2 separate regions of the Homo sapiens genome follow, and region 1 is linked to region 2. Evidence: promoter capture Hi-C in human tissues and cell types (Jung and others, 2019). All regions are on one chromosome and are shown on one strand. Each heading gives the region's core, a stretch centred on a gene start or on the middle of the fragment in contact. The rest is flanking DNA. Distances are from core to core; before and after follow the strand shown. Region 1 overlaps RSPH1 (radial spoke head component 1). Region 2 holds the start of HSF2BP (heat shock transcription factor 2 binding protein).

The links. The method cuts DNA at HindIII sites, captures the fragments that hold promoters and counts their contacts. A contact is called where the count stands out against the background at its distance.
Region 1: a contact is called between a fragment that was not itself captured here and the fragment with the promoter of HSF2BP in region 2, in 1 of the 25 tissues and cell types used here (lymphoblastoid cells).

The regions. Positions count from the first base shown.
Region 1 is chr21:42,489,699-42,492,940 of GRCh38, forward strand. It overlaps RSPH1 (radial spoke head component 1), which reads right to left. Exons shown (of 9, transcript NM_080860.4): 3 at 3,060-3,165. Among named protein-coding and RNA genes, the nearest start is that of RSPH1, 4.9 kb to the right of the region's middle. RefSeq lists an enhancer at 2,662-3,242. The HindIII fragment of the contact is 4,264 bases long and covers 1-3,242 here.
Region 2 is chr21:43,657,781-43,661,222 of GRCh38, forward strand. It overlaps HSF2BP (heat shock transcription factor 2 binding protein), which reads right to left and starts at 1,708. Exons shown (of 9, transcript NM_007031.2): 1 at 1,606-1,708; 2 at 281-540. The coding sequence starts at 316. It overlaps RRP1B (ribosomal RNA processing 1B), which reads left to right and starts at 1,780. Exons shown (of 16, transcript NM_015056.3): 1 at 1,780-2,014. The coding sequence starts at 1,885. RefSeq lists a silencer at 1,813-2,002 and an enhancer at 2,723-2,772. The HindIII fragment of the contact is 9,655 bases long and covers 1-3,442 here.

The DNA of each region.
Region 1 (3,242 bases), core at 298-2,797, 1.2 Mb before region 2:
TGTAATCGCTGAAATATGGTTTTACAGATGCAGAACCTGAAAAGCAGAGAGACTGCATGCATTCCCCAAGGTCCCACAGCTGGTGGGTAGCAAGACTGAAATGAAAATTGGAGTCTGTCTAACACCATGCTCTCTTCTCCACAAGCATCCCAACAGTCAAGTGCTCATTTTTTCCAGCTCCTGCCATTCGGGGGCTTCCAAAAAACCCAGGTTCAAGTTATCATGTCATTCTTCTTTCTCCACAATGTCATTCTTAAACTTCTTTGTTTTGATGAGTTCTGTTTGACAGGCAACAAGGCCAGCAGGGAATAGGGATGCTCTTTCTCCCCCTTAACCTCAGAGTCCTCAGTTGGCCCTACACCCCCAACCCTCAGCATCAGTACATGGGGTCTAGGCCTCCCCCACATCTGGCACCCACCCTCCCCTCCATCTCATCCCCCACTACCCCTAAAAACCTCGGCCTTCCTGCCTGTATCCAAGTCACCCGCCACCCAGGACCGTCTCCCCACTCCTCTCCTGCAGCACTATAGCCTCTGCTGGCTCCTGGACTCCCTAATTGGACTTGTGTGACCATCTGGGAGACAGGTAGGGTACTGGACTTTATGCCACAGGGTCCTGACGTTGAACACACTGCCCTGCACAAAACCATTCTGGCCCATTGTGATGGCAGCCAGCCAAGATACACTGTTATGAATAACTCAGCCATACATTAACTGAGATTTTGTGATTGGAAGAGTATTGGCTTACTATGTTATAATTAATATTATAACTTCTGACCTCAGTTTCCATTGCTGCCTTCATGAAGTAAGACACTTATTTAAGCTTTTGTCAGAGAAGAAATCTCTGGGTAGTGGCTAAATCTTGCACCCTTTAAGATACAAAGCCATCTGGAGAATCAAAAATCCCAACTGTTACCAGAAGAGCTTTATATGTTAGTGTGGCATAATAAGAAATATTGGTCTTTATTCATGGTTCCCAGCACAGAGCTCCTAAAACCCTTGACATTTCCTGACTGATAGAAATGTTTTTGTTATTCAAAATGAGACTCTTTTGACCACACCTGAACTTATGCAAATGAGGCCCAGGATGGCCTCAAGATGGGACTGAACACCAGAAAGACCAAGTGATAAGAAGGATAGAACCTCCAGCCCCACCCACCAACTTTTGGTAAAGAAGAAGGAAGGGGCCAGAGATTAAGCTCTGTAAAAACTCTTGAGCAAGATTTGTTGAGCTTCTGGGGTGATAAACATATCATGTGCCAGGAGGGTGGTGCACTCCACCTCCACAAGGACAGAAGCTCCTGTGCTTGGGAACCTTCCAGGCCTTGCCCTCTGTACCTCTGAATCTGGCTGTTCATCCATATTCTTTATAATATCCTTTACAGTAAACATGAGTAAAGTGCTTTCCTGAGTCCTATGAGCCGCTATGGCACATTATCAAACCTGAGTAGGGTGTTGTAGGAACCCCCAATTTGTAGCCGAGTCAGGTAGAACTGTGGGTACCCTCCGGATCCACAACTTGAGGTTGACATCTGAAGTGGGGCAGTCTTGGAAACTGAGCCCTTAACCTGTGGGGTCTGTGCTAACTCTGGGTGGTGTCAGAATGGAGTTGCATCATTGGAAACTCAGTTGGTGTTCACAGAAGACTGGAGAAGTACATAGCATGGAAAATCCATGCATTTGGTGTCAGAGAAACAGTTACCCATTTTTAACCTTCATATTCAAAATTCCTTAAATCCCTTATCCTAAATATCTTCGTGTGTGTGTGTGTTGTTCAAATTGTATCAACATCTACACTAAAATCAAAAGTGACAAGAATGAGATTAGGTGCATAAGGATTTGGAAAGAATTAAATTAAGCCCCAAATTAAATTGTTTAAAGTTGATTTAAAAAGCAGATGGTGCTTCTTATAGAGCAAGCCTTCTGGGATTTATGAAACAAAACAAAACAATTTCTATCTAACAGGGATGGTATTAAAACCCTCCATCTTGGTCTCAGAATTGGACAGAATCATCACTGACATCTATTAAAATAAGAACCACCTACTGGTTCTTATTTTATCTAGGAGCAAAGCAAGCAACTATAGCTCGCACTTTGTAAGAATATGTCCTCCTCACTAAGAAGTGATGCTGTCACAAGTGGTACATCACAGTCCTAGCCCCAGTTACTGAGTGCTCACTATGGATCAGGCAAGGTTGCAGGTGTCTCCCTGTGTTTATCCATTGAATCTTCATGCTACAGATGAGAAACTGAGGCAAGGAGATGTGAAGTCACCTATGCAAGCTCACACCTATTGTCACCAGAGTCCAAGGTTAGGGTCACAGATCTTTTTGGAAATCTGAAGAAAACTAGACAATTTCTTTCTTCCTAGGGAAAAAACAAAAAGCCCAGAACACAGAATTTTATATACACTTTCTGAAGACTCACAACACGCTCCCTGCCGGTCCCCCTGCCCAGGTTTGGGATATCACTAATGTGGTCACACCAGGTGACAACGGCACAAGGGGCGGCAGGGAGGTTCTTGGAAATAAAGGAAAAAGAATCCTCCTCAAACATAACATTGGCCTGTAAGGACTTATGGCACAGGTAGGAAAAGTCAGTTTAACAAGGCAGGAAGACTCCCAGACAGGAAGCCCTGATGTAAGGAAACACTCGATCTGAAGAAATAACACATCCGTCAGATGGCGGGGTTGGTCAGAAATGGAAAATGCAAAGACAGGTTCAGGAAGATGAATGCCGCAGAGCAGCTGAAGCCGTGGGTCCACCAGCTGCGAGGCCTGCGTCCACTCAGGAGCCTCCCTTTTGTCTGCTCCCAGGACATGGACATGCTGGCCACAGGGACAGATTTCCCACTACAGATTCATTAGTGAGTTAATTAATTACAAGGCTTTCCTATTTCTGCATCAACACTGTGAATATAGTAACACGATCTGTGTTCGTTGAATGAGTAACTGGAGAACTTTAAGCTTTCTCATACATGTCAGTATTCACAGACAAGTTCAGTCATAAAGAAAGAAAAACTTCTGTAACACGAAAATCTGCTTAGTGATAACATTTTACCTTCATATCTGGATCCATCTGGATATATAAAAGTGCCTTGACCGTGCTTTTTATTTCTAACATATTCTCCGATATATCGAGCACCATTTTTAAATTTGTAGATCCCCTGAAACACATTGATTATATCATTCATATCATTGCTGAATGTAGCATTTGCTAACAGAGTATTAAATAGAGAAAACC
Region 2 (3,442 bases), core at 458-2,957:
ATCCATCCCACGCTCCCATGCCCGCTTTGGCGCCACTGAGTGCCCCCACCACGCGCAGCCTCACAGACCGGGTCCCCGCGTGGGTTTGGAGGCGAAGTCGCCTCCCGCCCCAGGTCTCCACCCCGCTCCGGCCCAGCCCACGCCGTTAGGGGAGGAAGTCTCCAGGCTTCCCCCAAGCACGCGACAGCGAGCCGTCTCCGAGCGCACGGGGCGAGGCCCTGAGGGGAGCGAATGGCGACGGTTCAAACACGCTGGCGTCGGCCAGGGCTTCCTCACTAACCCGGCAGGCCTCCTCAGCGGCGCCCGCTTCGCCCATGGCCGCTGCCGCCTCCGCTCCGTTCGCCTGAGCGTCGGCGCGCCCTCTGACCCCTCACGCCAGAAAGCGCGGGAACGAATCCACGCCGGGGGTCGGGAACGGAGAGCCGCCAGGCCCAAACCTCCCAGAATTTGCGCAGTATTCTCGGCCTAGAGAGCGAGGAGTGGCCTTGGCGAGGTCCCTCTTTGGCTCTTCTGGCTTAGCCGGGGTTTTAAACTTGTTATCTGCAAAGCAGAAGGAAAGTCAGCCCCTGATGTAAGTGTCAAGTAAAATAAATCGGATGGGTCCTTTCCTGTTTGGCGAGGAATGCTACACTAAGGGGGACTGCGTTCAAATGGGCAGTCTTTGCTGGAAACCTCGCCTCCGCGCGCCTTCCCTCGCTCGGATTCAGGCGCTTTTACGTTAAGGGTTGAATTTTTGTGTCAACAGGCACCTCGGGAGGTCGCCTAGACAACTGAGCGGAGCAACTGAGATAACCCCCGCTACGTGTGGAGTGACCTAGTCCATTAACTTGCCCCAGCACGCCCGCTGAGTCCGCAAAATATAGGATGGCCTCGGGTTTTAGATGAACCCAAAGCTAAGATTTCTTCCCTCTCTGGAATTAGCAAGCAGCCCGCCCTGCCCAACTCCCCTGGAAGCGCGCGTGCTCGCCAGGCCTCGGGACGCCTGCGCGGGCGCCCTTGCACTGGCACCAGGGCTCCGGGGTAGGGGCGCACCGATCTGCCCAAGCCTCTGCAGGCACTGGAGGAAGGCGAGCCCTCCACCCGCTCAACAGGCCCCAGTGCCGGCCTTTCCTTCCAGTCTCAACTCCACCCGGGGGCCCGGGGGCTCCACAGTTAAAAACTCCACGCCACGGAGATCGCAGGTAAGCTGCTGGCTCAACGAGGTGTGCTAAATGGGATTAAAGATCCTGGACCGTGGCCAGGCGCGGCGGCTCAAGCCTGTAATCCCAGCGATCAGGGAGGCCGCCGCGGGAGGATTGCTTGAGCCCAGGAGTTTGAGACCAGCTTGGGCAACATAGCGAGACACCGTCTCTACAAAAAAATAACAAATAGTGGGGCGTGATGGCGCGCGCCTGTAGTCTCAGCTACTTGGGCGGTCGAGATGGGAGGATCGATCGAGTCTGGGAGGTCGAGGCTGCAGTGAGCCAGGATCACCGCCAAGATCGCGCCACTGCATTCCAGCCTGGGCGACAGAGGGAGACCCTGTCTCAAAAACAAACAAAAAATCCTAGACCGTTTACAAACAGCCTTCCGTCTCTTCCTGGTCAAGTCCTAACCCTGGCTAACCTCGCCGTCTACAGCCTGAATTTTGGCAACCGAAAGGCAGCGCCGGCGCCACGTGCACACGGGCTGGGCCGCTCCGCCAGCTGCCAGGGCCACTGCCGCGCTCACTCCCAGAGCGCGCTGCGAGCCGCGGCGCCTTTGTGACGCCATCAGCCCGCGCGCCGCCGCCGCCGCCTTCTGTGCAGTCGCGGCCCGGGCGGACGGTGGCTGGCTGCTCCGCAGCGCTCGGCTGGCTGCAGCGGCACCGCGGGTTGCGCGGCCGGGGATGCTCCAGCGGGCGCGATGGCCCCCGCCATGCAGCCGGCCGAGATCCAATTTGCCCAGCGGCTGGCGTCCAGCGAGAAGGGCATCCGGGACCGAGCGGTGAAGAAGCTGCGCCAGTACATCAGCGTGAAGACGCAGAGGGAGACAGGTGGGCGCACGGCCGCGGTCAGCCGCGCCACATGGCGGGCCGGGGGCCGGGGCTGGGGCTAGGGCCAGGGCCCCGGCACGGAATGCGGCTTCCACGTGTTGTCGTGACACCCAGCGTGTGCTTCGGTTTCCGCGCTGCCGGAACCGCTTCTTGCTGTGTCTAGTGCCTTTTTACACTTAAGGAAACGGGTTGAGGGGGTTCCGTTACTTATGAAAGTCACAGTAAGCGGGGAAGCTGAGAAAAGACCCACATGGGTCCGATTCCCCAGCCGGCATCTCGAATCACTGGGCTGCCCTGATTTGCCCTGGTGTCCGGTCGGTGATTGCCGCCTTCCTTTGACCAGCACCTTTACGTGACGGGGCTGCAGGAGAGAAGACAGACAAAATCACTACCCTCGAGGATCTATTAGTAATAAAGCAAGGAGGCAAACAGGCAAATAAAGTAGACCTTGTGTAAGTGTAGTAAAGGAAATGAAAACCAGGTAGCAGGCCGGGCGCGGTGTCTCACGCATGTAATCCCAGCACTCTGGGAAGCCGAGGCGGGCGGATCACCTGAGGTCGGGAGTTCGAGACCAGCCGGACCAACATGGTGAAACCCCGGCTCTACTAAAAATACAGAATTAGCCGGGCATGGTGGCGCATGCCTGTAATCTCAGTACTCGGGAGGCTGAGGCAGGAGAATCGCTTGAACCTGGGAGGCGGAGGTTGCGGTGAGCCGAGATCGCAGCATTGCACTCCGGCCTGGGCAACAAGAGCGAAACTCCGTCTCAAAAAGAAAAGAAAAGAAAAAAGGAAAAAGAAAACCAGATAATAGCAAAAAGGGAAGGAGGTTGCTCTTCTTGATAGGCTGTTCTGGGAAGGCCTCTCTGGGCTGATAATCAGCTCAGATCTGAAGAGAAATGAGCGGAAACCGCCTATGCAGAGGCAGGAAAGAGCTTCACGTGCCCTAGGAGTGGTTTGAAAGACCAATAAGTTGGGGTTGGGGGGGCGAGTGTTATGAGATGAAGTTGGAGATGTAGGCAGTGGCCAGATCACACAGGGCTTTGTAGTTTAGATTTTAACGGCACTGCTGTTGGATGATTTCATTTACCTGATCCAAAAATACTTTCTATAAACTCTTGAGTGAGCCCATACAATATGAACTACAATGTGTAATAGAGGTTTTAAGATAAAGTTTTATTTAGTTACTGATGGTACTAATACATTTAGAATCTGCTTAAAAGAACAGATATTATCTCCCCCATCACTGACATTCTCAGTTTGTTTTATTTTTAAGAGAAATCACCAGACTACCCAAAAAAAGAAAATACACTTTCCTGGGAAGTCTGATAGAAAAAGGAATAAAGACCAAAATTCCTGACTTTGATTCTGTTAAGAATCTCCCCAAGAGATTTTGTTTAGTCTCACAGTTCCAGGTACCCCATATATG